Regions from separate parts of the Homo sapiens genome. Here regions 2, 3, 4 and 5 are each linked to region 1. The links are contacts of gene promoters, found by promoter capture Hi-C in blood cells and fetal thymus (Javierre and others, 2016). All regions are on one chromosome and are shown on one strand. Each heading gives the region's core, a stretch centred on a gene start or on the middle of the fragment in contact. The rest is flanking DNA. Distances are from core to core; before and after follow the strand shown.

What was found. Contacts are between HindIII fragments. The CHiCAGO score rates a contact against its expected background, and 5 or more counts as called.
Region 2: a fragment that was not itself captured here is called in contact with the fragment with the promoter of SELENOS in region 1 in 1 of 17 cell types (megakaryocytes); the score reaches 6.5 in megakaryocytes.
Region 3: a contact is called between a fragment that was not itself captured here and the fragment with the promoter of SELENOS in region 1, in 1 of 17 cell types (monocytes). The highest score is 5.9, in monocytes.
Region 4: a fragment that was not itself captured here is called in contact with the fragment with the promoter of SELENOS in region 1 in 2 of 17 cell types (M1 macrophages and M0 macrophages); the score reaches 5.8 in M1 macrophages.
Region 5: a contact is called between a fragment that was not itself captured here and the fragment with the promoter of SELENOS in region 1, in 10 of 17 cell types (megakaryocytes, M0 macrophages, endothelial precursors and 7 more). The highest score is 14.9, in megakaryocytes.

Annotation. Positions count from the first base shown.
Region 1 is chr15:101,275,178-101,281,188 of GRCh38, forward strand. SELENOS (selenoprotein S) reads right to left here and starts at 2,308. Exons shown (of 6, transcript NM_018445.6): 1 at 2,165-2,308; 2 at 1,364-1,498; 3 at 78-184. The coding sequence starts at 2,240. RefSeq lists a silencer at 2,184-2,513. The HindIII fragment of the contact is 1,843 bases long and covers 1,423-3,265 here.
Region 2 is chr15:101,605,151-101,611,161 of GRCh38, forward strand. It overlaps LINC02348 (long intergenic non-protein coding RNA 2348), which reads right to left. Exons shown (of 3, transcript NR_147041.1): 3 at 1-885. Among named protein-coding and RNA genes, the nearest start is that of LINC02348, 6.2 kb to the right of the region's middle. The HindIII fragment of the contact is 1,050 bases long and covers 3,023-4,072 here.
Region 3 is chr15:100,937,153-100,943,163 of GRCh38, forward strand. All of the region lies in intron 2 of LRRK1 (leucine rich repeat kinase 1), which reads left to right. Among named protein-coding and RNA genes, the nearest start is that of LRRK1, 21 kb to the left of the region's middle. RefSeq lists enhancers at 4,386-4,525, 4,566-4,715. The HindIII fragment of the contact is 8,526 bases long and covers 1-6,011 here.
Region 4 is chr15:100,983,875-100,989,885 of GRCh38, forward strand. It overlaps LRRK1 (leucine rich repeat kinase 1), which reads left to right. Exons shown (of 34, transcript NM_024652.6): 5 at 4,760-4,939; 6 at 5,376-5,524. Among named protein-coding and RNA genes, the nearest start is that of LRRK1, 68 kb to the left of the region's middle. The HindIII fragment of the contact is 704 bases long and covers 2,966-3,669 here.
Region 5 is chr15:101,016,132-101,022,142 of GRCh38, forward strand. LRRK1 (leucine rich repeat kinase 1) reads left to right here. Exons shown (of 34, transcript NM_024652.6): 13 at 4,922-5,051; 14 at 5,714-5,826. Among named protein-coding and RNA genes, the nearest start is that of LRRK1, 100 kb to the left of the region's middle. The HindIII fragment of the contact is 2,106 bases long and covers 3,260-5,365 here.

The sequences.
Region 1 (6,011 bases), core at 1,058-3,557:
ACACAGACACAGGCATCGTTAGCCACTAAACCTCAGACAATTTCTATGCACACATTCAAACTGAAACCAGTTCATACTTGTTTCAGTTTTTCCTTATGCTTTTCAACTTGCGCATTTAGTTCTTCTTGCATTTTCAGTCGAGCAGCTGCTAAAGCTTCTTGTCGTTTAACAACAACATCAGGTTCTAAAATGTCAGAAAAAAATGGAGATAAAGCACTGTGTACAATATAAAATAGAAACTTTTGAGTGTCCATATTATTAAAAGTATAAAGAGGTATGGATATCAGACAATGAAACAACATATTTTTACATAAGTACTCCTAACCCCTCTGCATACATTTTACTGCTTCAGGGGGCAGGGGTCTGTTGCTGAGCCACGGATTTTAGCCCGAAATATCTACATCACCAGAAATCTGTTAGAAATGCCAATTTCTGAGTTCCCCTGAGCAATTCCGATTCATAAAGCCTGGGATAGTGGCCACACAGAGCACATCTTGGATACCTCAGTGACACCCACAGTCTCTAGGCTGACTAGAATCCTGGAAGACTACCAAGGAAATATAAAGTTTTCTAAATCATTATCCATCCCTTAATTAGCGCAGAAGATTCTTAAGTATTTGTTTCTACAGAAAAGAAAAATCCTTCCAAATAGCATTATGAATAGAAATGAACTCATTTCTATTCATAACGTCTACTCATAGAGTCTCGCTCTTTGCAACAAGGCTAGACTCCATCTCATAGAAAAAAAAAAAAAAAAGAAAGAAAAGACAGTCTCACTCTGTTGCCCAGGCTGGAGTGCAGTGGCACAATCTCAGCTCACTGCAATCTCCAGCTCCCAGGTTCAAGCGATTTCTCCTGCCTCAGCCACCCTAATAGCTGGGATTACAGGTGCCCGTCACCACGCCCCACTAATATTTGTATTTTTAGTAGAGACAGGGTTTCACCATGTTGGCCAGGCTGTTCTCGAACCCCTGACCTCAAGTCATCCTCCTGCCTCGGCTTCCCAAAGTGCTGGGATTACAGGTGTGAGCCACCGCGCCCCACCGAGAACCATATACTTCCTACTTTTTTTTTTTTTTTTTTTTTAAAGACAAGGTCTCAATCAATTGCCCAGGCTGGAGTGTAGTGTGGCCCGAGCATAGCCCACTGCAGCTTTGACTCCCTGGACTCAAGTGATTATCCCGCCTCAGCCTCCTGAGCAGCTGGGACTACAGGTGCGTGCCGCCACTCCCGGCTATTTTTTTTTTTTTTAAATAGAGACAGGGTCTTCCTGTGTGGCCCCTCTTACTTTTACTAAGAGACTAACTCTTAATATAAAGGAGGTGCAAAACCACCGCTTTCATTTCGGTTATCAGGCACTAACCCACAGCAGCCGCAGCTCGGTCCAGCTGCCTCTGCCTCAAGGCTCTTAGCCGGGCGGAAAGCTTCTGAAAGACCACGTAGAGAAGGATGCAGCTGAAGACGATGTACCAGCCATAGGTGGCCAGCAGGGAGCCCACTGAAAAGAAAAACAGTTTTCAAAAAACTAAAAATGACACTACTAGTTGACCTTTCCATAAGACTCAACAAACACAAAGTGTAACTCCTGCCCTCAAAGCCTTCATGGTCTAGGCTGAGGAAAAAGCCTCCTAAGTAGATCGTTAAAACACGAACTCAAGAAGTGCGACAATTCAGGGATCACTGAGAAGTGAGACTTCCCAACCATCTGGGGAGTCGGGGGCAGTTAGAGTGTGGAGGGCACAGCAACTGGGTTTTGAAGAATGAAGAGCAACTAATCTGAATCAGGAAGGCAAAGGCCTTTCAGAGCCACATAGAAAGGGGTGACAGCGCGGGGAGTCAGGAGTGTGTATGGGGCTGTGTGGGACGGGTCCCAGAGGCAAACGCCAACGGCCGAGTGACCCCAGTAACTACCACAGGAAGGGCTTGGTTCGCAAAAAAGACTTGCGCAAACAAGGGACAGCCGAGCCGCCCAGGGAAGTGCGGCTCCCGAGAAGCCTCCGCGCAAGGTCCGGGCCTGCTGCCCAAGGTCCGCGTAAGCGCCAACGCCCGACCGTTCCCAGGCCTCCCAGGCTCCGGCGCCCGGTGCAGCGGCGGACGACCCACCCATCATGGCTGCGCGTCGCAAAAGTGGCGGCGCGCGCCCGGCTGCCCCGCAACGACTCACCCGTGGTGTGCAGGAAGCGCAGCCCCTCGGTCTCCAGGGCCGGCCGCGCGGACAGAGACTCCTCTTGGCGTTCCATGACCGCCGCCGCCGCCGCCGCCCAGCCCTGCCGCCGCGCCTCCAGCCGGGCGCTTCCGGTGCGCTCCTACGCACACGTGGCGCGCCCGGACGCGGTCGTGGTCCCGGCCAATCGCAGGCCGACCCCGCCCCGTCGCTGGGCCAAACGCAGGGGGGCGTGGCCGAGGGGCGTGGCGGGGGAGAAATCCCGGCTACGCTCGCCGGGGCCGGGACAGCGCGTGTGGGAACGTTCTGTGCTATCTCTTGGCTTGAGTCGGGGGTGGAGGACGGACCTCGTTCACGGATTTCTTACCGAATTTCTACTTTCTTTTTTTTTTCTAATTGGACACTGAAGCCAAGGAAGTCAGTGGTCGCCCGGAAGCAGGATTTGCACCCACATCCTTGCCCGGGGCACATTGGACAACAGGGCTCAGTTGGTTGACGACTCCCAGCATTTGAGGGTTGCAGCCAACGTCCACCCCAAGTGAAGACACGAAATGTGAGCAGCCTCCTGCTCCTGCTGCTGGTGATACCTTTCAGGCCAAGAAAGTCCCCACCGATCCTCAAGGTTCTTTCTCCAAAATCAAAGCCTTTTAGGAAAGAACGATCATAGTAACTGCTCTAACCTGTGTTGAATTATACTGTATCACCACAAGACACGATCACAGAGTTACTTATAATAGTGTCCTGGCTGTGTTCCTCTGCCTGCAACGCCGTCCCGCACCCTCTTCCACCACTCAAACGTCACCACCTTTATGGTGACCATAACCATCCTATTTGAAATGTGACCTTGGGTTTTTCTGGAGCATTTGAAGTGCACATACCTAGCTGTGTTTCAAAAGAAGGGTTGGGAATTGGGAATAGAACTGAAAAAATAATGAATAGGTGACAACATCCGAGTGCTGCGTCACCACTGTCGCCAGGAGCAGTGTGGGGAAGGCAAACCATGACATGAAGCGTGAACGCAATCAGTGTTTCTTCAATGCAGGTTTGCCAAGAAGTTCCTCAAGGGGGACAGCTGCAGGGATTTGAGCACTGACCTCATCAAGCTTTCCCAGCAGTGTGTTCAGAAAGCAATAAAGGGGACCTGGCATTCATGAGCCATAGCAAAGAGAAGCCTGAAAGCTCTTCTTCCCTGTTGGCCACCTTGAAAATGGACTCCTCAGATGAACCGAGGACTCTGGATGTTATCCATAAAGGCTGTGAAGATAGCTTATCGATTTAATGAGGAATTTTAGGAGGGAGAATTTCCTTCTTCATGTTTGCCTTTCCGTTGTAAAAGGTGATGAACCATCACCACTCTTTGCTTTGCTACAGATGATTTCTCACTTGCTCTGGCATCTTGCAGGAACATTTATGTGCTAAATTGAATGACTTCTATGGAATTAGTTGCAATTCTCAGTCCCAGATTAGCTTTAAATCCGCCTTACATCTAAATACTGATAAACTAGACAGGATGAGCAGGGTTGCCTCAACTATTTTGTTAGGCTGTGAAGGACATTAGGTATACCGTACTGGGGTCATAGTTCATGGAAAAAAATGGTTAGGGCCTCACTTTTCTCTCAGGAAACTCATACCAAAACAGTTTCAATCAATGCTTGGGAGCAGTTTTATTTTTATACAGTAACTTAACAGGATGGTTTAACACAAGAGTTCCCCATCTTGACAAGGTGTCAGATGAAGACTTGAGAGCTTCAAGAATGTTGCAGTGGGCCAGGAGTGGTGGCTCTTGCCTGTAATCCTATTGCACTTTAGGAGGCTGAGGCAGGAGGATCACTTGAGGCCAGGAGTTCAAGACCAGCCTGGGCAACACAGCAAGATCCCATCTCTACAAAAAAATTTGGCCAGGCACGGTGGCTCACGCCTGTAATCCCAGCACTTTGGGAGGCCGAGGTGCATGGATCACCTGAGGTCAGGAGTTCAAGACCAGCCTGGCTAACATGGTGAAACCCTGTCTCTACTAAAAATACAAAAATTAGCCAGGTGTGATGGCGGGCGCCTGTAATCCCAGCTACTAGGGAGGCTGAGGCAGGAGAATCGCTTGAACCTGGGAGGCAGAGGTTGCAGTGAGCTAAGATTGTACCACTGCACTCCACAGCCTGGATGACAGAGCAAGACTGTCTAAAAAAGAAAGAAAAGAAAAGAAAAAAAACCCACAAAACTTAGTTATGGAAGAAGATCCTAAATTGCAAAGATTTGTTGTTGCCGGCTTTCAATCCATGTCAATGAATTAAAGTCAACGTGCACAGTATAAAAATGCCAAAATGTTGCATCTGATTAAATGAAGGGAACGTTTGCTTTATTTGCCTTGTTTAGCTACCTTATCCTGTAATGTCTGTAATCACAAAGATGGAATAAATTGTAACATTTTAGGTTCTATCATTAAAAAAAGGCAACAATCCTTTTCACTCAGGACTTTGCGATATAAAATGGAAACCAGTATTAACTCATGAAAATAATGCACATTCTAAGCATATAGAAAACCAAAGTATCCTTGTAAACTATTGTGAACTATTGTATACATATATACATATAATGCATATATTCCACTAAAATCTAATAGATATTATTTGAATGCATGGATGATGGCTTTTCAGTTCCTAGCACATTGATCTTATGGTCCTATTGATAGAAGTTACTCATCCTAGCCAGGAATTTGTTACCTTTGTCCCTTTAATCAGGTGTTATAACCTCACCTGGCTTGGCTTGTCTAGAACTGGAAAGGTATTTCAACAAACACTTTGCTCAATGTAATTGCTCAGGTATTATTTGCAAAAAGAGGACAAAGGTGGACAGTAACCAGGGCTGCCACCTATCACTGACTGTTGTAGGCTAAATGATTGGCCGAGGCTGAAAGAGTGGCCCTAATTTGTCACTCCTTCTCACAGCCATATCCTTGCTATGGCAAGGTCAAAGGAGTATATTTCCCCATCATCCTTTGACTTTGTACTTGGCGAGGTGGCTTGCTTTGGTTAATATCAAGTGGGCAGAAATAAGTGTGTCAGTTTTGAGTGTAGGTAGGCCTTAAGAAGCTCCTAGTGTTTATTTCTTGTGCCTTTGCCGGGTGAGCTGGCTTATCTGAGACCTGTAAAGAAACCAAGCCACCCCAGTTAATCCAGACCTACAGTGATAAGCAGAGCCAACTACATAATAGTGTTGTTGATTAAAACCCCTGAGTTTGGCCAGGCGTGGTGGCTCACGCCTGTAATCCCAGCACTTTGGGCGGCCGAGGCGGGAGGATCATGAGGTCAGGAGATTGACACCATCCTGGCTAACACAGTGAAACCCCATCTCTACTAAAAATACAAAAAATTAGCCGGGCGTGATGGCGGACGCCTGTAGTCCCAGCTACTTGGGAGGCTGAGGCAGGAGAATGCTGTGAACCCAGGAGGCGGAGCTTGCAGTGAGCCGAGATCGCGCCACTGCACTCCAGCCTGGGGGACAGAGCAAGACTCCGTCTCAAAAAAAAAACAACAAACAAAACCCTGAGTTTTCGGGTGGATTGTTATACAGCATTATTGCAGCAAGAGCTAACTGATAAAGTGCCAAGCTTTTCACAAAAGTATATGCAACAAGATGGGATTAAGACTGTCGTGGCTAAGGGGGATCAGAGAGATGGCAATGAAACAGTAGTGTTCTTCAAATATGAGTAACTTACGCCCCTTTCAACAAATGTTCTTGTAGACTCTCCATATGACCTTTATGTTAACTATGTACATATATAAAACTAAAGGCTGGGTATGGTGGCTCAGGCCTGTACTCCCTTGGGAGGCCAAGGCGGGAGGATCACTTG
Region 2 (6,011 bases), core at 2,298-4,797, 330 kb after region 1:
GAAGCTTTCCCAATTCTAGCCTTCTGGCATCTAGAGGATAAATCTGTGCCTTCCTCAGTAGGTTCCCAGAATATAAGAGAAGTTTGATTTTAGAAAGATGATAATTTCTTCTGGCTGAGTGTGGTGTTTTATGCCTGTAATCCCAGCACTTTGGGAGGCTGAGGCAGAATAACTGCTTGAGACCAGGAGTTCAAGACCAGCGTGGGCAACATAGCAAGATCCTATCTCAAAAAAAAAAAAAACTAAAAAATTAGGCATGGTAGTGTCCACCTGTAGTCCCAGCTATTCAGGAGACAGAGACATGGGGATCATATGAGCCTAACAGTTCAAAGCTGCAGTGAGCTATGATCAAGCCACTGCACTCCAGCATGGGCAATAGAGCAAGACCCAGTCTCTATAATTTTTTTTTTTTAAAAGAAAGGTGATCATTTTATATAAGCAATTTTCTCCATGTGTTATGTTATTAAAGATTTAAACTGGACTCAGAGTTCAGCAGAGGGGAAGAATCAGTGTCCACTAATGTCCTGTTTTCTCTTCCTGCATGATTTGCGGCAACTTTGAAAACTCCCTTTTTCTTTGTGTGCCAAAAAGTCTGGCTTCTCAGCCTCATTCCCAAGCGGCCTTCTCTGGGTTATGGAAGGAATCCACTTGCCTCTGGAGGAGGGCTACGCAAAGATGTCCACCTCCTCACATATCTTGTAGGACCATGGCATGAGGCAGAGCCCTGGCCAAGTACTCCACGAACCAGATCCAGCTGAAGTAATTATTGCATTCCAAGATCCAAAGTGTATCCAGCCATGGGAACAAAAGCTTCATCTTATGTTCCAGTGGGACTGGCTGCTTGCAGTGCTCTGCGGAGAAGGATGTAAAGGCCAAGTTCACACTCTGTGGGAAAGAATGCCATGGTCAGTGATCAGCTAGTGATGTCTGTCATGATCACAGGGATGGGAAGTGGAGGCAGGCTTTCCACTGATGATGCTCCCTCCATTCCTTACAAAATCTTTCCCCCTTGTCCTGAAGGCCTTTTGAATAAGCTCTGCATCCAGTTGTGTCTAGGTACTTTTAAAAACAGAAAGGGCACAATCGGAAATGGCAGCCCAAGGCCCACCCAACCCCAGGTTAGGTCCCATTGATCTTGTCAACTGTTCATTCAAGAAAAGAAAGGCGGCTGAGCGTGGTGGCTCATGCCTGTAATCCCAGCGCTTTGGGAGGCTGAGGTGGGCAGACCACCTGAGATCAGGAGTTTGAGACCAGCCTGGCCAACATAGGGAAACCCCGTCTTTACTAAAAAAAAATAAAATAAAAAAATCAGCTGGGTGTGGTGGTATAGACCTGTAATCCCAGCTACTCAGGAAGCTGAGGCATGAGAATTGCTTGAACCTGTGAGGCAGAGGTTGCAGTGAGCCGAGATGGTGCCACTGTGTTCTAGCCTGGGCAACAGAGTGAGACTCCATCTCAAAAAAAAAAAAAAAAAAAAAAAAAAGGAAAAGAAAGGAAAGGCAGGCCAGACGAGAGGTCCAGGAAGTCAGGCAGGAAGCTGCAGGTTTGTGTTGGGTGGGAACATGGGGGTGATAGTAACCCGGCATAGGGCAGCCACAGGCAGTGAAGACAGAGGGAACAACAACCCCCCATCGATGGATTGTACTGGGAAGAAATGCAGAAAACTCACAGCCTCATCTTCCGCTGAAACACAGGCATCCTCGGAGGTGGTTGATCCAGATCCATTTAACCATCTGTGGATGGAGGTAGCTGACCACGGTGGGTGACAGGCTCACCATAGAGCTCGGGACTGCAAGGTCCACCCTCAGGTGCAAAGAGCACTTTACCTTTTCGGGGGCCTTAGGCTCCCTCTACCTCCCTACTGGAAATAAGTATTAAGCAGTGGTGGGCTGATAAATGCTCAACAGCTGGCCCTCTGGAGGGAAAGATTGTGTGTGTGTGTGTGTGTGTGTGTGTGTGTGTGTGTGTGTGTGTGTGGGGTGTACATACACATATAAATGAAGAGATAATTTATTATAAATGTTACTGATATAAAGAATGTACAACAAAACATAATGATACAATATCCTTTATTATAAGCTGCATATAGTTGGTTGATCCTCACAGAATGCCTTTGTTGAGTTTTTCCAAACTCTTGTATCTACAGCCTATGTCTGTTTGCATATGATGACTAAGTGTGCTTTACACATGAGGGTTGGCTATTTTCATTTCGTTTCATTCTCATGAGGCTGATATTTTCATTTATGTTAACAAGTAAAAGTGAGACAATGAAGGCGAATATCAGAAGTTCACTTATTCATCAATGTCACAAGTGACTTCCTTGCTGAATCAATCAGGCCACAGTTTTTAAGCACTGGAAGAATAAATCCTCAATTTTTTTGCTTGTCACAATATAGGGGTGCATCAGTGTAGTAGGTTAAATAATGGCCCTCAAATAATATACGCAGATCTGAATCTATGAAGCCTGCAAATGTATCTTATGTGGCAAAAGGGACTTTGCAGATGTGATTGAGTTGAGGATCTTGAGAAGGAGACATTATCCTGGATTACATGGGTGGGTCCCAAATGCAATCACAAATGTCCTGATAAGAGAGGATAGAGGGAAATCTGACATAGAAGAGAAGGCCATGAGAAGACAGCGTGGAGAGAATTTTGAAGACGCTAAGCCACTGCCTTTGAAGGCGGAGGAAGGGGCCACGAGCCAAGGAATGCAGCTCTAGAAGCTGGAAAAGGCAAGGAAACAGACCCCCCTGGAGCCTCTGGAGGGAGCGGCCCTCATGGCACCCTGATTCCATCCTGCTGAAACTGATTTGGGACTTCTGACCTCCAAAACTGTAAGAGAACAAATGTGCCTTGTTGTAAGCACCAGGTTTTTGGTAATTTGTTACAGCAGCCACAGGAAACTCACACAGGCAGTTTTTAATCTATTGCATCTCAGCTCTGAATGCACCTTTCAATATGTGCTTTAGGACAAAGATTGGAACCTTTTAACCATTTTGAATTTAAAGTGAACAGGATGTGAAGCTTTCTCAGTAGACGGTGCTGGAAGGACTTTCCTGTAATTTCCAGGAAGGTCAGCCAAGCGGAGACTATCCCGTGGAGTCGGACGGAGCCTCAGAGCCAGAACACAATGACTCTGTGGCCATGCCTGGCGGTGACTGTCTACACAGCAGCTGGCCTCCGACCTCACTACGCAGCCTGCCACTTCCTCTGCAACCTCTCCACCCGCCAAGCAACCTCAGCACCCAGAAGGCCTTCTGCCCTGGGGGCACTCAGTTTCCCACTGCAGTTCACGCCTTTGGTTACTAATCACCTGTTCCCTGCCTGCCCTCCAGAGGGTGCCTATTGTGTGTCCACCAACTCCAAACCAGCTGTAGCTGTGTGCTCTGGGCTAAACTTCATTGCTATCCAGTGGCTGAACCACACCCTCTCCAGCTATGTCTGAACCCCAAACAACTTCATTTTTACTTTGGGAGCTCCCTCAGCCCTAGGATACTGCATAGAGCTTCTTTTTATCTTACTCTTTTTTTTTGAGACAGAGTCTTGCTCTGTTGCCCAGGCTGGAGTGCAGGGGTATGATCTCGGCTCACTGCAACCTCTGCCTCCTGGGTTCAAGCGATTCTCCTGCCTCACCCTCCCGAGTAGCTGGGATTACAGGCACCTGCCACCAGGCCTGGCTAATTTTTGTATTTTTAGTACAGATGGGGTTTCACTGTGTTGGTCAGCCTGGTCTCGAACTCCTGACCTCATGATTCGCCCACCTCGGCCTCCCAAAGTGCTAGGATTACAGGCATAAGCCACCGCGCCCGGCCTATCTTACTGTTTTACAACTGTTAATAATTTTAACTTAAATTTCCCCTGTTTAACCTGCTGTGTGATTTCTGTCTCCCGATTAGAGCCAGACTGCTACAAATGGCCCCAGACATGACCCACTTATAAGTTGAATCTGTACTATTAACAATTTTTTATTACTTTCTTAAGCCTAGAAAATCAACAAAACAATAACACAAGCTCTGATTTGCAGTGTTTGCCAACTTCCATGGTGTAAATACTCCTATCATGGCCAATCCCAAGCTTTCAATGTGACGTCACAGATTGTGGGCTTGGGAAGAGATGCCCAGTAGCTGTCACTATATACTCTTCCCACGGCATTGATATAATAGATGCAAGTAACCCTCAAAGCATAGAAAATAGCAAAAGTAGTAAAACTCATTGGGAAGGGGTGTTTGTTAACATATTTGATTATAAGTTCATATGATTAATTGTGAATAATGCCTATATTTACAACTGGCTCACAAAATCTGAGCACATTTAACGCTTGGTTCTATTGAATGTTACAAGCCAGCTCCAGCACAGCACTGGGATTAAGGGCCCCCAGCAACAAACCAGGGGGAGCTCCGCATTCTTTGGGCAATTGCTGGCCCCCTCTGGCATCAAGACAGGTCTCCGGTTCAGCCTGTGGCATTGAGATGGGGCGGTGGAGGGGGGACAGAGGAGAGGGTGCAGGCAAGAGTTTCTCTGTTGCAGGATTCACTCAGGACCTCCCATTGCTCCTGTTTTCTGCCCTGACGTTGATGCCCCTTCATGTCCTGGCCCGAGGATGGAGGCAGCAGCCTTCCCCTGGACCCTTTCCGGCACGGTCAGACCTGCCGTTTGCCATGCATCTGAGAGTCCTTGAGGTCATGGCAGCCGCTCTTTTGCCCCCACTTGAGGTCATTGAAGGAGAGTGAGGGAATGGCTGTAGGTATGGTGGTCAGCGAGTCAGGAGTCTAGTCCCGACCTTACTCCTGGCTGGTGGAAAGACTGGGGGCCAGTCGGTCACGCTCCCAGGCCTGAGGCCCCACCTGTGCGGTGAGGGTGGGCCTGATGCCACTCTGAGGACTGATGACCCTGAGGCTTCTTCCAGCTCCAGGATGAAGTCCTGCCTCACGTCCACCTTAATGGCAGGCACAGTGATGCCACCTCCCAGGATCTGGCAGCTGCAGGGGCATCAGCAGGTGCTGCGGTCCTGCTGGGATAGCCTATCCCTGGGAACTGGCCCCAGACGCTGATCTCAGGACCTGCCATCAGATAGCTCAGCCTTCGCCAAGAGAAAACAAAATGCAGGCAGGTCATCTGATCTTCCTTTTCCACTTTCCCAGGGACCAACTAGCCTTTATAATAAAACCCAGAGGAGACAGTCCCTTCCCAGAGATAAAACCCTTCCCAAGCCGTCCCTGCTACTAGGGCAACGCTGGGCGCTGCGCGGCTGGCAGGGAGCCCCAAGAGCTCTCTGCCAAGGGGGCTGGGCTGGTGGGGCCGAGGTCCCAGAGGCTGCCTGCCCAGAGCCTGTGCTAATGAGGGAAGAGGGCTACACTCCGCTTTGGAGCACCTCTCAACAGAGGGGACACCTTGGGGTCGGGGGTCAGCATGACGGATGTCTTCAAGGTTCAGTGTGCAGACAGGACCAACCTCTCCCACAAGCAAGATGCTAAGGGAAGACCCCAGAAACAGCAAGTGCAGGACATGTGAGTATGGGGGTGATGCAGAGAGCCTCACAGTACCCAAGGACAGGGTCGGAAAGACCTGAGGTGAGTGGACCGCCCTGGCCTGGGAGGCAGCCTGTAGACTGTGGGGCCAGTGACGGTCCCCTCCTCCCAGGCGCAGTCCTCCCCTTCCTGCGTCACCCTCTGCACACCCCTCTCCATTCCTGCTGTCATGCTCGGGCCAACGTCCCAGGTCTAACTAGTGAAGCCTTTGCAAGCTCCACGCTGCACTCTTAGAGAGATCCTACTCAAAAGCAGGGCTCAGAGTGGACTTTCTTAGAAGAGACTCTCTTTTCTCTGACTGCCCTTCACCAGTGCCCTACCCAAGGCTGCCCCCGCCCTGCCCCCACTTGCTCATTTTATCACCTGCCCCTCCTCCCCACTGTTCCTCCAGGCCTCAACCAAAGGCCCTCCTTCGGGTCATCCTTTCTTCCTTAAAACAGCGTCTGATGTCTGACCTAGTTCAAGAAAGCCGTGGCTCAGTGT
Region 3 (6,011 bases), core at 1,773-4,272, 340 kb before region 1:
TCTAGATTTTCGAATATTTTAGCATGAAGTTGATAATGGTTCAGGATTTTAAAATATATTTTTAAACTATCTTATTCATTTTTAATAGATGAATCATATACTTACACACAATTTAAAAGAAGTACAAAAGGGAATACAATAAAAAGTACCCATTCCCGCCCCCTACCCAAACTTACTACCAATTGCCGTCTCTTCCAAAGAATCAGGGCTACTATTTAGTTCCCCTTTTTTATTGGCCTCAGAAACCACAGTTTTTAGGCCTGGACTCAAAATGGCACATTTTTCTCTTTTCATAAGTCTTTAGCTACGTGGAACTTTAAAATGTTATATTTTTGTCTTAGATTTCTTTTTTTAAAATGTTTATTTATTTATTTATTATTTTATTTTATTTATTTATTTTGAGGCGGAGTCTCACTCTGTCCCCCAGGCTGGAGTGCAGTGGCGCGATCTCAGCTCACTGCAAGCTCTGCCTCCCAGGTTGATGCCATTCTCCTGCCTCCACCTCCCAAGCAGCTGGGACTACAGGCGCCCGCCACCACGCCCGGCTAATTTTTTTGTATTTTTAGTAGAGACGGGGTTTCACCGTGTTAGCCAGGATGGTCTCGATCTCCTGACCTCGTGATCCGCCCGTCTCGGCCTCCCAAAGTGCTGGGATTACCGGCGTGAGCCACTGCGCCCAGCCTATTTATTTCTTTATTTATTTACTTACTTACTTAGAGACAGGGTCTCACTCTGTCACCCAAGCAGGAGTGCAGTGGCGACCTCTCGGCTCACTACAGCCTTGACAGCCTGGGCTTTAGCGATCCTCCTACCTCATCCTCCTAAGTAGCTGGGACTACAGGCGCACACCACCATGCTTGGCTAATTTTTGTATTTTTTTTTTTTTTGTAGAGATGGGGGTTCACCATGTTGCCCAGGTTGGTCTCGAACTCCTGAGCTCAAGCAATCCACTTGCCTCAGCCTCCCAAGGTGCTGGGATTACAGATGTGAGCCACCACACCCGGCCACTTTTTAAAATTTTTTATTACAGAAACTTTTGAACACAGTACACAAGTAGAGAGAATATTAAAATGCACCCCTTTGTACCCATTACCCAATTTCAGTAATTATCACACATGGGCAATCTTTTTTTTAACCCTCTTGTTTTTAGTTGACATGTAATAATTGTGCTTGTCTATGGGATACAGAGTGATACTTGGATACATGTATACAATGTGTAATGATCAAATAAGGATAATTAGCATATCTATCACCGCAAACATTTTTCATTTCTTGGTGTTGGGAACATGCAAAAGCCACTCTTCTAGCTTTTTGAAAACAGACCACAAACTATTGTTAACTCGATTCCCCCTCCAGTGCTCTGGTGCACTGGAACTTACTCCTCCCATGCAGGTAACCCACCTTCTGCCATCCTCCCTCCTTCCCCCACATGGCCAATCTGCATCCATGTAAACCCCCTTCTCTCTCTTTCCAGATGATTTAGAACCCAATTCCATACTTATAGCTTAAGAAGTCTAGAAAAGAAAAAACAAAATACATTTAACATACGTTTAAATGTATGTTTAAAAGTGTATGTTAATGTATGCCCACAATAGCATGCTGTTGACAGGCTAGGCTTCTGAGAGGGGAGACCCAGGCTGGACCCTTGGCTGGAGAGGGCCGGGTGTGGTGGCTCATGCCTGTAATCCTAGGACTTTAGGAGGCTGAGGTGGGTGGATCACCTGAGGTCAGGAGTTTGGGACCAACCTGACTAACATGGAGAAACCCCATCTCTACTAAAAATACAAAAAACTAGCGAGGCATGGTGGCGGGCACCTGTAATCCCAGCTACTCGGGAGACTGAGACAGGAGAATCGCTTGAACCCAGGAGATGGACGTTACAGTGAGCCCAGATCATGCCATTGCACTCCAGCCTGGGCAACAAGAGTGAAACTCCATCTCAAAATAAATAAAAAAGTCAAAATATCAAATATCTAGTCAGTGTTCAAATGTCCTGCATTGTCTCTGTTTTTATCACTGGTTTGTTTGGGGCAGGTTTGTTGAGTCAGTGCCCTTGCATGCTGGGACATGGGACAGTACAGTTCCTAAGTCTCTTAATTTCTATCTTTCTCCCTCAATTTCTTTTTCATTGCAGTTTCTTTTGTTGATAAAGCCATATTGTTTGTCCTTTGCAATTTTCCACAGTCTGGATTTTTGGCAATTGCATTTCTATGTGTGGCCTGACATGTTCCCACCTTCCCTATGTTTTTGTAGATCCAGAGGCCTGATTAGATTTAGTAAGATGTTTTGGCAAAAATGCCCAATAGATGGTGGGTTCTTCCTCCTGCATCACCTAGTCACAGAATGTCTAATTGTCTCTCTCTGATGTTTAGAGTTTTTTAATGATTTTCAGTGGTGTCAGCGCAATCACTCTTTATAAACGTCCTAATGGTTTTTCGACTTTTCACACAATGGTTTTATCAGTCATTGATGGTTGCTTAGATCAATTATTTAATTTGAGGTTGCAAAGTGGTGTTATTTTAAGTCTATCTTACCTTCTTCATTTATCAGCTGAAAGTGATCTCTAAAGAAGAAATTTCTTCCATTAACTCTGTGGTACCCTGAGTTACAGTTTGTACAGCAAAGTCGGGGTAAATAGTTGGGTTTTTTTCTCTTAGTTTTCTTATTCATTCTACTGAAAATAAGTCAATTCCCTAGCACCTTTTGAAGGCGGCCAATGAAGGTGGGGTTTTTTTTCCTTAGTATCATTATGAACTCATGAATTTTAATTTATTTGATTCTTGATGCTAACGCTGTTCCTCTTTTGCCAGTAGGCCCCCTGAGTAGGTTCCTCTATCTTTTGGCATGACCCCAGAAGTCTTTGATAACTTCCTTGCTTTCTGATGTGACAAGACATCCAGGGCCAGATTGTCCATATCCTGCCCCGGATGCACGATGCACTGTTTCTCCAAGAATCCCTGTGTCCTTTGCTGATGATGCCATGATTTTAAGTTCTCTAATATAGTTTTATCTCTTTGTTTCAGATAATGCTTTTGTGTTCTCACATGTCCTGCTCTCTCTCTCTCTCTCATTTTGTTGTTGATCAGTCTTTCCATAAGATTGTTTATTTCACTAGTCCTTCATTCTTCTTTTTTCTAAATTTACTCTTCTTGACTAGTATCCTGTCACTTCTGAGGACTCATATTTTTGCAACTTGAAAATTATTCTTATTTATTTAAGTATATGTTTCTGAAACTCTCATTAGACACATTTTGAAAAACTTCAAAAAATATCTTCAATGTCTCTCACTCTTTTATCTCTGCTCCCGGCCTCCTTGTCTTTTGGTGCTGCATCCTCCTCTTGGTCTTCCAGATTCCTGATTTGTCCTTCAACGGTGTCTCTGCTCTGCAGCTCACCCACTGTGCTTCACAGTGCAACTCTTCTCGTTTTAATTCCCAAGAGTTTTAGTTGATTCTTGTTTGTGGATGCTGCATCCTCCTGTTTCTCTCCAAGACATCAGTAATATTTATTCTGAATTCATTCTCGCTCTGCTAACATTAATTCTGTGTAGAGAGGGGCCCTGGAGGTGCTGGAAAGCTGGAGCCTGAGATTCTGCTTAGGGAAGCTCCCATGCTAACTCAGTCTTTTCCTCCAAGATAAGGATGAACAGTTGACAATACCAAGCTGTGTTGTGAATCAGGAAAGCCCAAAGCTGTCTTATCTCAGTGACTGTGTGATTTGTGTAGGTTTGCCCCGAACAGTAATGTGAGGATGCAGCAAGATGTGCAGGCCCTCTGACCTGGCTAGACCCTGCCTTGCAGAGACATTGTCACTGTCAGCTGCTCACTTCCTCCTGGGGACTCTGAGGCCCAAGGGGGACAGTGGTGAAATATGACACAGCTTCTCCCCTAGGTGATCAGACTGCTTCCAATGAGCCTGTGCCCTTGGCTACATAAAGAGGAAACATAAATATTTTCTGTGTGTGTGTGTCTGTGTGTGTCTCTTTGTATGTGTGTCTGTGTGTCTGCATATCTATGTGTGTGTCTGTGTGTCTTTGTGCATGTGTGTTTCTGTGTGTGTCTGTATGTGTCTGTGTGTGTGTCTGTGTGTGTCTGTCTGTGTGTGTGTCTGTGTCTCTGTGTGTGTCCGTGTGTGTGTCTGTGTGTGTCTATGTGTGTGTGTCTGTGTGTGTGTGTCTGTGTCTCTGTGTGTGTCTTTGTGTGTGTGTGTGTGTGCCTGTATGTGTGTGTCTGTGTCTCTGTGTGTGTCTGTGTGTGTCTCTGTGTGTGTGTGTGTCTGTGTGTGTGTGTGTGTCTGTGTGTGTCTATGTCTCTGTGTGTGTGTGTGTGTGTGTGTGTGTGTGTGTGTGTGTAAGGTGGGATGTCTCTTCCTGCTGATCGGTGGCCTGCCTGTGTGCTGGCTTGGTTAGAGGAGTTTCGTGCTTCTCTTTATGGCGCTGCTCTTCCTCAGATGCTTGCGGGTGCCTGGGTGGATGCTGACTGTTCTGCTCGGGATTCCCCGTAGCTGTCTGTGAACACAGCATTTGTCACAATAGCCTGCGAAGAGGAGGGCCAGGGGACTGTAGCAGGCTGCCTTGGGGACATCCAGAGCATGGCTTCCGGGTGGTGGGCTCCGTGTGCCTCCTGGGAGTTGCCCAGCACACTTTCTCTTTAGCCCACATCGAGTGTAGACCCATCAGTCCCAGGCTGCCTGGCACAAGCTGGAGAGGGGCCAGATCCACAGGAGTCTGCCCACTATGGCTCCCCACTCCTCCCAGTCGCCCTGCTGGTGACCTGGGGACCCTCTTGCTTCCCATGTCCCCCAGCAGCCTCGGAGCTCTCCCAAGCCTTCTCCACCTCACGCACAGTGGATTCCGGTCTTCTCAGGTCACTTCTTTTCCCATGCTAATAAGGCTTGTTGATATTTGTAATAATTTCTAAGGATTTGGAGCAGGAGGTGGTGGCTGCAGCCGGGCTCAGCCTACTGTCTTGATCTCATCTTCCAGCGTCTCCTGGGCATCTCCAAGGTGTGCACTTGCAGGAAATACTGAGTGAGAATGTCAAGAACCGGCTCTACAGTCGGAAGGAACCGGGTTCAAATCCTGATGCTTCCACAGCTAGTCCTATCTGTGACAGGGGCAGGGTTAGAATCTGTTTGCGGAATGGTTAGCACCATACTAAGTGCACATGCTAGGCAGACCCTCAAAAAAAATGGCCTGTTCTTTTTCTCTTTCTCTGTTGGGCAAATTATGTAGCCTCAACTGGACTCTATTTCTATTAGGGAAAATGATAATAATATTACAATGATTAAAAAGTAGGGTCCTTACAAAATGGTGAGTCCGATTTTATTTGGCTCTAAGCTAGAGAAGGCATGGCTCACAGTTATGGAAGACATGGATTTAAAATGTGGCCAGTCTTCATTTCCAAATGTGTGTACACGAAAGTGTGATGACCCTCAAATCTAATCATCAAAATTAAAGCTGTTTAATTAACATTTTAAATTAAAATGTTTCAATTAAAGTCCAAATCTTTCCTTGCCTTATCTTCAGAATGCTTTTTCTTTTCTTTTTTTTCCAAATTACAAAACCTGTATGTCTCACTGAAGAAAACTGGTACAGTGTGAAGTTCGACAATTCACGGAGTAAGCAAGGCTGACGATGGGTGCCCGGAGTCCCCCTCTGGTTCTGTTGGTAGCAGCCTTGGGTCCTCATGAGGCCTCTCTGCTCACAGTGGGCGGGTGGGGTGTGCACTCACCCGGAGACGGCCTCCATGTCCATGCTGAACAACTCCCAGGGTTCTCCATCCGCCAGTGCTTACTGATCAACCCGTAGTGCTGGCCATCCCTTTTCAACAAGTTTGGAAGGTGCTTTTTTCCCGGTTTTCACAGAGTAACTCAGAAGTGACTTAATAAAAATATGCACAAACTGTCTTGGTATGTTCCAAATTGGGATCTTATATAAAGACTCCTGGGCCTAAGGCAACAGTCTATGTAAAGTGAATTATTTCACTTTCTTAAAATAGGGACAAGATGGC
Region 4 (6,011 bases), core at 2,068-4,567, 290 kb before region 1:
TCCCATGAACTCATAAGGGAAATTCTCAAACACCATATTTCATAAAGAATGTAATTAACATTGCTTTTTAAAAAAATAATTAATAGACCTTGGTCTTTTTAGAGAAGTTTTAGATTTATGGAAAAAATCAATTGGAATGTACGGAGTTCCAGAATTAATGATTTGGAGGTATGTTAACAGAAAACAGGTGATCGCTAAATCACTTACACAAGAATATCTAGGTAAGAGAGACAGTAATCATGCTAGTAACTTCTATTGAGATGGGGACGCATCAGTCTCAGGAGGCAGGTGCTATATTTCAGAACCATGGTTTTAAGATGACGAAAACAAAGCTCAGAGAGGTGACCCTCCACTGTGCGCCCTCCACATGGTTTTCCCTATAACTCTGTTTTGTGTTAGTGTGGGACATTTGTGACAACTGATCAACTAATATTGATACCTTCTTACTAACTAAAGTCCATCGCTTACGTTGCAATTCATTCTTGCTGTTGTATATCCCATCGGTTTTGACAAATGGATAATGACACGTGTCCATCATGACAGTATTACATAGAGCAGTTTCACTGCCCTAAAAATCCTCTGTGCTCCACCCCTCCCCTGGCCCCATCCCTCCCTCCCTCCCTCCCTCCCCTGGCCCCTGGCAACTACTGATCTTTTTTACTATCTTTGCCTTTTCCAGAACATCGCTCTAGTTGGAATCCCACAGTCTGTAGCCGTTTCAAACTCACTTCTTTCCCATAGCGATATGCATTTAAGGTTTCTCCATGCCTTTTTGTGACTTGATAGCTCATTTCTTTTAATGGCTGAATAATATTCCATTGTATTGGTGTACCACACTATGTTGCTTTTGTAGGAACTATTTTTTTCTCTGGTGAACTCAAGATGTCCTGGTCTCCTGTAATTTCCCGTGGTGGTCTTGGCTCAGAAACACTGCACCAGTCTAGGCAGGCATCGCTACAGCTATAGGGTGAGGCACACCCTAGCCATGGTCTTTGGGATTTGAGATTTTGCTTGGGAGCCAGGGCCCACCTCTTGGGTGGGAGAACATGCAGTCACCCAGGGCCCTGCACCTAGAAGGGCCCACGTTACGTTTAATACTCTGTACTCACTATCTTAAAATGTTTCATGATTTTTAAACAAGAAGCCCCATTCTTTTCATTTTGCATTGGGCCTCACCCCTTATATAGTGGTCTTGTTTGAGGGTTTCCAGCTGTGGGCTTTGATAGATCTGTGCTCAGCGTTGGTTCCAAGCTAGTGTTCCCCTCATGTGTCTGAACAGAATGAGGTTATGGGCAGAAATCAGGGCAATTTTAGGGCCCATGAGAAGCATACTAAGACAAGACATAGGAGGGCAGAGAGGAGCTTGGGTGCTCCTGAGGAGCCAAAGGCTGACCTGCCTCTTCTCGGGGAGCCCCAAGATTAGCTCTGTTCTAGCCCTGAAGAGTCTGCACCAGCTGACTCCGTCACCTAATGTTAGCTAATATTTATTGAATACTGTCAAGTGCTGAAAACTGTGTAGAACGTGAGAGACAGATAATTTTTTTAAAGATTTTCCCAGCCATTTAGTACCTCCTGGCCAAGCAGGGGAAATTGAGGCAGAAAGGAGTAACACTGTGCAATGTAACTACACTGAGGTTGAAGTATTTTTACGCAGAGGTCTGGGAGCACACATCAGGGGGCAGGGTAGGGTCTCCGAAGGGAGGCTGACATCTGACCTGGGCTTTGCAGAGTGAATAGGAGTTTACTTGGCAGACAAGTGAAGGAAGGACTTGGGTTGCCTGCTTTTGCAGAGCAGGAAGTGTGGCTGAACCTCGTCATGGTTTTCAACTGCTCCCAGGAGCATCGTATCTTCAGCTCAACTCTGAGCAAAGCTGCTGAGGACTGAAGGATTTCAGACCATTGTGGTGGGCTTTGCAGAAAGTGCAGAGATGGGCAAAACAGTGTGTACCCATCCCTGCACTTCCTGCAAAGGAGTTCCCAAGCTGGAAGGGAAGTCAGCCATGGTCAGGAGTAAGTCAAGACAAGAAGACAAACAAGAGTCAGGCTGGACATGCTGGCTCATGCCTGTAATCCCAACAATTTGGGAGGCCAAGGCAAGAGGATCACTTGAGCCCAGGATTTCATGACCAGCCTGGGTAACATAGTGAGACCCTGTATCTACAAAAAAAAAAAAAAATTTAAATTAACCAGGCATGGTGGCACATGCCTATATTCCCAGGTACTTGGGAGGGTGAAGTGGGAGAATGGCTTAAGCCCAGGAGTCCAAGGCTGCAGTCAGCTATGATCACATTACTGCACTCCAGGCTGAGATAGAAGGAGACCCTGTCTCAAACAAAAAACAAAAACAAGAAGCAGCTAGAGAACAAAGGAGGGTTTGAGAAGAAGAGGGATGAGAGGTTGATGGGATGCATTCTTTGAAGCACGTTGTTATGTGATTCCTGGTCTCTGAAGCTGAGCAGGGAGGAAGAGGGGCTCCTCTGAGTGTCGTTGGCCTTAGGCTGTAGAGAGTACCTGTAGGGGTTTTGTGTGGTTAAGAGAGCACCCTTTGATTTTAGACAAAGCAAGGTTTAAGTCTTGACCTTGCTATTTACTAACTGTGGGACCTTCAAGAAGTTTCCCTGCCAGGTGTGTCCCACAGACCCTGGCTGATGGATGAAATGAGTACTCAGACACAGGTGTACGGTGTAAGAGCAGCTGAGTCACTGCCTGGCTCTGTTGGCCAGAGAGCAGCCCGAAGAAGCTAGAGCTGCTTGCTTTCATTCAGTGCAGGCACAATGCCGAAAACCTGGAGCCAACACAACCTGTAGGTAATTAACATTTATTGTTCCCCTTTCAGGGAACATCAAGCCAGCAGATGATCAAAGGTCAGTTCCTGGTCAACATAAGTAAACAAGCCTGTTTAAGATACATTCCCCTACACTCCTTGCCCTCTGCCTTCAGCTGTTCTCCCCCAGGGCTCTGCAGAAGCTTCCAAACTTTCAGAAGGTTTGTGTCCTTTCCCTGTAGTTTTTCCTACGACTCTGACCAATCTCCTACATTTCCAAACCTCTCTGAGCTTTGGTTTCCTCATCTTAAAATCATGGTCCTGAAATATAATGCCTGCCTCCAAAGACTGACACATCCCCATCTCAACAGAAGTTACTAGCATGGTTACTGTGTTTCTCTTACCCAGATATTCTTGTGTAAGTGGATTAGGGGTCACTTATTTTCTGTTAACATACCTACAAATCATTAATTCTGGTTAACAGTAGAGGGAGAAGAAGGGATATTTACTTGGCACTGGCTCCAGCCTCAGCCCTATGCTACATGCTTTATTTGGTGAATACAGGGCCATCCTGACCCCGGTTTCCTGATCAATGTCCTGTCGCGAAGGAGAGAGTCACTCTCTCCTCACTTGGGAGCACTTTGATCCCTAGGACTATGTGCCTCTGGAAATGAGGCAGTGTTATGATGCATTTGGGAAGTGTCCCTGCAGAAGATGAGGTCATTTTTCCATGGCAACTAGACCCAAAAGATATTGCACTATTTTGAACTTGAAGATATTGTAACATTTCAGCCCACACTGCCCCCGTCAATTCAATGTGCTAAGTGTTATTTCATCCTGGAATTAAGTAGGTGGTTCTACTGGGGAGAAATTGTCACTTTTAGGCCTGACAGATCTTTCACCAAAGCTTTTATTATTATTATTCATGAAAGTAATATATGTATATTATAGATAATTTTAAAATGTGGGAAAGTGTCAGTACTTTAATAATACAATGACACAACATCATGAGTTAGGGTTTATTGATCCAGGCACTTGACATGCATTTTGTGATGTAGTCCTCACATTAAACTTGGAAGAATGAGTATTATTATTCCGATTTTACCAACAGGCAAACTGAAACAGAGAGAGATTAAGAAATGTGTCCAAAATTACATACTAAATTATTTTATTTCTAAAATGCCTGTCTCCAAAGTTCATACTCCTGCATGTAATGTTACCCTAGGGGAGGGGTGAGGGCAGGGGAGAGCCCAGAGAAAATACCACAATGCTGGGGTAGTTGTTTCTAGTCTTATTTCCACACACCCATTTTTTATTTGGCTAAGATCATGCTGGATACGCCATTTTTAATCCTCCATTTCATCACTCGGCATTATCTGACAAGCAGGTGGGTGACTGATGTGGGGAAATGTCATATGCAATTCAGAGAGACTATTCCAGAAAACACTATCAACTCAACAGAAGCAACTTTCAGCTGGAAACAGGACAGCTGGGTTTTGTTTTGTTTTGTTTAACTTTTACTTTAGGTTCAGGGGTACATATGCAGGTTTGTTACGTGGGTAAACTGCATGTTGCCGGGGTTCGGTATGCAGATTATTTCGTCACCTGGGTAATAAGCATGGGACTCAATAGGTAATTTTTTAACCTTCCCCCTTTTCCCTCCCTCCACCATCAAGTAGTCCCCAGTGTCTATTGTTCCCTTCTTTGTGTCCACGTGCATTCAATGTTTAGCTCCCCCTTATAAGTGATAACATGCAGTATTTGGTTTTCTGTTGTTGCGTTAGTTCACTTAGGATAATGACCTCCAGCTCCATCCATGATGCTGCAAAGTACATGATCTCATTCTTTTTTATGGCTGTATAGTATTCCATGGTGCAAATGTACCACATTTTATTTAACCAGTCCATTGCTACTAGCGGTCTAAGGGAAGAGCAGAGTGGGAACAAACAGCACCCTTCAGTGGCACTTTCCCTTTGTCCTGCCATCTCCTGCCAGGTCCCTGCAGTCCCCAGCGGCTTCTGAACTGGATGCTGGCCTTGGCTTGCCAGCGAGGGCACCTGGGGGTTGTGAAGCTCCTGGTCCTGACGCACGGGGCTGACCCGGAGAGCTACGCTGTCAGGAAGAATGAGTTCCCTGTCATCGTGCGCTTGCCCCTGTATGCGGCCATCAAGTCAGGTGGGTTTCCCCACTACCCTGAGTCAACCCTGACCGTGCAAACCATCTCAGCCTCCAGATGTGGGACTGTGTCTTTATTCTCACTCTTGGCTCTCAAATCACCTCTGTGAGGAGACTTTTGCAACTCCTGTTCTATGTTTCTTTTTCAAAATATCTGCACCCTTCCTCATTTCCTCCTTACTTGCCCCCGCAAGGGGATTTCAGTGACAGAGACTGACTGTGGCTAATGGGACTGTTGTACGAGGCACTCCAAAGGGCAAAGCCCCACAGAAATTCTCCCACTAACAGAAACTTGATGCACCAAGGGAAGTAAATAGAGAAGTCCAACATGCACAAGTACCTTTTCAGTTTCCATTCCACATATCAGAGTCTGCCCTTCCAACGACTGTGACACTAGCATCTGCATGCCCTTAGCTTTTTGGTTTTGTTCCTTTAGGGAATGAAGACATTGCAATATTCCTGCTTCGGCATGGGGCCTATTTCTGTTCCTACATCTTGCTGGATAGTCCTGACCCCAGCAAACATCTGCTGAGAAAGTACTTCATTGAAGCCAGTCCCTTGCCCAGCAGTTATCCGGGAAAAACAGTGAGTAGTCACTGCCTGTGGAGTGTGTTTTAGTTCCTTTTGTGCTGCTGTAACAGAATCCTGCAGACTGGGTAATTTATAATAAACAGAAATATATTTGGCTTACAGGTCTGGAGATTGAGAAGTCCAAGAGCATAGTGCTGGTATCTGGTGAGGGCCTTCATGCAGTGATATGAAGGTGGAGGGCAAGAGACCAACAGACTGAGAGAGGGAAGAACTCACTTTTATAACAACCCACCCTCAAAATAACAAACCCACTTCCACAATAACAACATCAATCCATTTATGAGGGTGGGGCCTTCTTGGCCTAATCACCTCTTAATGGTCCCATCCTTATCACAACAGCAATTACATTTCATCATGAGTTTTGAAGGGGACATTCAAGCTATAGCAGGGTGGGAGCTGAAATCTGGGCTTCATCCCCCTCCCAGAGTTTTTGTTTTTGTTTCTGGTTTTTTTTGGTTGTTTTTTTTCTCTTTTCCTTTTT
Region 5 (6,011 bases), core at 3,063-5,562, 260 kb before region 1:
GGCATGTGCCACCATGCCTGGCTAATTTTTGTATTTTTGGAGATGAGCCACTGTGCCCGGCCCCTCTTCCTATAAGAACGTTAATCTCATAAGGGCCCCACCCTCATGACCTCATCCAAACCTAATTACAGCTCAAATATCCCATCTCCAAATAGTAATTTTGTATTTTAATACAATACAGGATGCCAGGAAGAAGGCCCTTGCTAGCCCCTGACAGTGCTGGCGCCCTCCTCTCAGATATCCAGGGTTTCACCATGTTGGCCAGGCTGGTCTTGAACTCCTGACCTCAAGTGATCCGCCTGCCTCAGCCTCCCAAAGTGCTGGGATTACAGGTGTGAGCCACCACGCCCGGCCCCTCTTCTTATAAGAATGTTAATCTCATCATAAGGGCCCCACCCTCATGACCTCATCTAAACCTAATTACAGCTCAAATATCCCATCTCCAAATGGTGTCACATTGGGTATTAGAGCTTCGACATATGAATTTGGTGGGGGGCGGGGGACACAGTTCAATCCATGGCATAGGGACTGACTGATTTGTCCCAGGTTGTGTGGCTGCTTCTCAGTAGCAGAGCCAGGTTTCATCCCAGGACTGTGGGACTTCAGCCCTGGACCAGCAGCTACGTGCTGTTAAGTCTCTACTGCCACACGATGGTATCTTGCAAAGCCCACATGGATCACGGCCGCCTTTGGACCCACAGGCTGAGGTGAGGCCAAGGTTGCACAGGGGCTCGTGGTCTTCCCCAAAACTCAACAGAGACAGAACTTTCCTAGTTTTTGTGCTGGTCACACAACAAGGCCAGTTCAGCAGAGAGTACATCTAGGTAAACAAGCTCTTTTTGTTCCATTATCTTCTGTGAGACACAGGGGAAGGTATGGAGCTGTCCCTTTCATTAAACAACCAGCTCTGCTTCTTAACCTCAAAGCTACAACTTCCAAAGCCAGCTCTGCTCACAGAAATATCCCTCAGGATGCTGGCCCAGAAAACCAGAACCCACATCCAGGTTGTTTTAAACATAATACAACTTTCTTCTTCAGTTTGATAGATGGTTGTTGGCAAGTACAGATAGTATGAGGTAGGGATGAGTGACGCCACAGAGGCCAGGACACATTTGCAGGAGGTGAACTAGGGAGTTTGCCGCTGCTACGCTCTTGGATGAACTGGTGTGCTTGTGTGTTGAGTATGATACACATAGAGATCTGTCCCATAAGAGCGTGTGTATTTATATGTGACTGAAAAAGGAATATCAGTGGACCAGATAAAAGAGTCCAAAAATAGACCTCAGTAAACATAGAAATACATCGGGAGTCCCCAGCGCCCCCCAGGAAGCGAACCGGTATTGGTCCCTGGCCTGCTAGGAACCAGGCCACACAGGAGGAGGTGAGCGGTGGGCCAGTGAGCATCAGCGCCACCTCCTGTCAGATCAGCGGCAGCATTGGATTCTCATAGGAGCGCGAACCCTATTGTGAACCGCGTCTGTGAGGGCTCTAGGTTGTGCCCTCCTTATGAGAATCTAACGCCTGATGATCTGAGGTGGAACAGTTTCATCCCTAAACTGTCCCCCTCACCAATGCTGCAGTCCATGGAAAAATTGTCTTCCACAAAACCGGTCCGTGGTGCCAAAAAGGTTGGGGACTGTTATTATGTAATATATGACAAAGGCAGAACTTCAACTTAGTGTAAAAGGATGCTTGCGTGCGTTAATAAACGGTGTTGATATTCCTGCCTGGAAGGGGGACAAAACACGATACTAGATTACAACAATCAGGTTTAAGTATAAAAAAAGAAAACAATAACATTTAAGGAATATAGGTATAACTTTGCTATGAGGGAGATCTTTAAAATCTAGTTGGAAAATCCAGGAATAATTTTTTAAAAAGACTGAAATCATTGGCTTCATAAACATTCAAAAATTGTGTTCAGTGGGAAGCATCATAAACCAAGTCATAATGCAAACAGACTAAGAAGAAATATTTGCAACACAAATTGTTGCAACACAAATTGGCTTAAGTCCCTGATATACAAAGAATGCTTACAAATTGATTTAAAAAAAAAAAAAAAAAAGACAACACAATAGGCAAAAAAAATGGGCAAGGGATATAAACAATTTTCAGAAAAGGAAGTCCAGAGGGCCAGGAAACAAATGAAAAGGTCCTTAACCACACGAATAGGGAAATGCAATTATGAATTTCATAACTGATCCTTTTATAAATGAAGAGCCTTAGGACTGTAGAAATTGAGTCCAGACATAGGGATTTCACTTAGAAGGAAGGGGAAACAAACACCATCTTCTCCTTCATGCCAGGCGGGATGATGGGTATGAGAACAGGAGCTAGTGTAGACCTCGGTCACGCAAGCCACTTGCTGTGTGGATTAGAAACGTGTCTCCAGTTTAGAAATGCCGAATCCTTCCTGGGACCACGGAGGAGTGTGCAAGGAAGTGGGCTCAGCACTCAATGAGACGCCAGTGGGGAAAATCACAGGCATGCATGGAAAAGCACCATAGGACTACGCGCGGTACCAATGCTCTAGAAAGTGACAGCTGGCAGCCCGCAGAAGTACATCTGGGGAGCCATGTGAGGGGGCCGCGCCCCTGGGAGGTTCTCTGGCAGAGGTGAATCTTGGCCTTGGCAGATGACAAAGGCCTCTTGATTCTTTAAACTTCATCTAGAAAGTTGAGGCCCACACCTGAGTGAAAAGAAGGCGGCTCTTTGCAAACCCTTTTCCTCAGTAGGGTTATTCTCCCAGGGCCATGGACCCTTGGGTAAGGAATTATCTACAAAAGACAGCTTGTTTGCAGTAGGATAGTAAAATTCCAAGTAGATTTATGTACATCCAAATAGTCATATTTGTGCAGTGGCCTCATCCAAAAATAATTTGGATGGCCGTTTTTACGGTAAAAATCAGACCAGCAGAGTCATAAATAACTTATGAATAAATAATTACAGTTCTTAAATACCTTGAACTGTGTTCTCCCCAGCTCAGTGCCCATCGTTTTCAACACTGGGCCAGGAGGTCTGTTACAGGTGTTGCCTCTGTTTGCAATCATAGCTCATTATTCCAGCCATCTCTTACTTAAAGAGGCTTCATAAACACCGTAGCGAAACTTTAAAAGTTTGGAAAGCACAGAGGCCAGGTGTTTAGAATGTGTTCTCTGGGGAGAAAGTAAGCCTTTCTCATTATGACGTTCTTTCATGAAAATGTGAATTAGGGCAGGCTAATATTGATCATCTTTTTTCATTGAAGGAAAAAAAAGGAAGCTTTTTGAACATTTCCTTACCTAGCAAGGACTCATACAAAGCCATCTTTAGAAGGCCGGTGCACCTTTATTTCCGCAGGAGCCCCTGCAGTGAGTCCCATTCACAGTACAGCTAGCTGGGCAGATTTTCCAGGCATTGGTTTTGGTATTCCATTATCGGCTCTCCCTGAATGTTCTCAGAGGCCAGGTTACCCATTACCATTGTTATTGCAGCTACATGTGTGGAGGAAAGCCAGAGCCGAGGCGGGGTAGCTATGATCAAGGGCAACCGAGCCTGGTTTCAGCCCAACAAAAGAACTCCGGCTTCTCTATTTTCCATGTCTGGCAGGGAACCCTATGAGAGGGCTTTGAGGCAGTTGTTTAATCTTGAATTCTCCGAGCTCCCAGGCATGCTGTCCTGCCCCCTCTCCAGGCCTTAGTAGGGAGGATAAAGGCACTTCAGAGATTCTGCTGAAATCCAAACCTCTGATTCCCATCAGTGTGCGTTTCCAAGCTCTTTCTCAACTCAAATGCTCTGGTGCCCGTGGAAACAGCAAATTTGACATGATTTTCATGGTAATCTCATAGTGAGCCTAATTAATAAAGTCACTTAAATACTAAACAGTTGGCTGGCTTTTCAAAGAATGGCATTGTAAGAAGCATAAAAACAGCCAACTGTGGTATATTTTCATTAACTAGCTTTTTTTCATGGAAAAAGCAACGCATGTATATTTTAAAACACCGTTTTTGAACAGTAGCAAAGGGCATGGGATAAATATTCAGTCCTCTAGTAATTCCTTTCCCCAGAGACAACTATGGAGTTCAGTGCATCTCTGGTAACCATTGTGTTCCTGTCTAACAACTGTAACCTCTGTGCATACACATGTGCAGGTGTGGTGTGTGTGCATATAACATATACATGGTATGCGTGTGTGTGCATGCATGTGTGCACACATTTTCTGCTACACTAATAAGCCTTCTAGATATCCGGTTCTGAACTTTTTTTTTTTTTTTTTTTTTTTGAGATGGAGTCTTGCTCTGTCACCCAGGCTGGAGTGCAGTGGCACAAACTCAACTCACTGCAACCTCCACCTCCCAGGTTCAAGTAATTCTCCTGCCTCAGCCCCCCCGAGTAGCTGGGATTACAGGTGCCCACCATCACGCCTGGCTAATTTTTGTATCTTTAGTAGAGACAGGGTTTTACCATCTTAGCCAGCCTGGTCTTGAACTCCTGACCTTGTGATCCCCCTACCTCGGCCTCCCAAAGTGCTAGGATTACAGGCGTGAGCCACCAGCCTGGCGCACCTTGCCTTTTCAATTGATGGGTAGCTCTTGAGTATTACTTCATACCCCCATATATGTAGACCTGCCCCATACTTTGTAATAGCTGCAATTATTCTATTACTCATTGAACCAACCCCCTGTGGCTGGACACATAGGTTGTTGTAGATTGTCCTCTATCTCTGCCACTGAGTGTCCTCATTCTCACATCTTTGCCACACATGCATGCAAAGCTATCTGTAGAATGAGAATTGCTAGGTCGATGAGGTGAGCATTTTGTTCTGATAGGCTTGCCAAAATGCCCTCTGGAGGTTGCATCAGTTTATACGCCCACCTGGTCACCACGCTGTGACGGTCCAGAATTATTTTTAAATGCAGTCTGCTTTGCCATGTCTTTGCAGCAAGTGTGCTGGAATTTCCGGCCTTCCTAAGTGAGTCTTTGGAAGTCCTTTGCCTGAACGACAACCACCTCGACACAGTCCCTCCCTCGGTTTGCCTACTGAAGAGCTTATCAGAGCTCTACTTGGGAAAGTAAGTACACATCTGGAGGGGCCGTGCTGGCTCTGCTGGCCCAGAGAGGCAGAACGCCCATCCCTAAACCAACTGGGACACAGAAAGCCAGGCAGAAAGAAGCCATCTACTTTCCAAGAAGCAGTAGTGAGATTTTCGGAACAGGGCTTGATCAAGGAGGTGGGGAGAGAGGAAGACGGAGTAGCAATGCAATGATACACACTTTCACTACATCACTTGGGCTGTGATGAGGAGAACCACTCAATCATTCATCCTTTCATTACTGAGCTCCCATTGCATGCCAGCTACTGCCAGGGGTTCTAGGCAGTGTGCAAAGCTTGATGAGAGTGTAAAATGTTATATTAATATTAAAGGGACATCGCCTTCTCGGGAAGAGGTAGTGATCATCTTTATGGGGATGTACTTAGTAGCAGAGACAGGAAAGTTGGGGGAGGGGACTCAATTCTAAGCCGTGGGGATTTGCAGAAGACAGAGCTGCCGTTTCTATCACTGATCCTCCAGGAGAAAGCCTTTGGAATTAGTGTTGAAATCAGGGCTCAAAGTGTGGGGTCTGGGGTACAGGCTGCAGAGGCTGACAGGAGCCACGTGTGTGCGTGTGTGTGTGTGTGTGTGTGTGTGTGTGTGTGTGTGTATTCTCTCGTGGTGGACACATCTGTCTTCAGCAACCCTGGCCTCCGGGAGCTCCCTCCTGAGCTGGGGCAGCTGGGCAACCTCTGGCAGCTGGACACTGAAGACCTGACCATCAGCAATGTGCCTGCAGAAATCCAAAAAGAAGGTAGGGCTTCCGCAGCCCTGTCCCCTGCCATCACCTCTTGGAAAGACAACTCCAGTCCACTTGTTAAGTTCTGGGGGTGGAGACAGTTGGTGACCCATGGAGCCCAGCTCCAGGTTCCAGATTTGACAAGATGCTATAAAATTGTCCCTAAAGCAATCGTTACTGAGGGTCACTATACTGAGAAG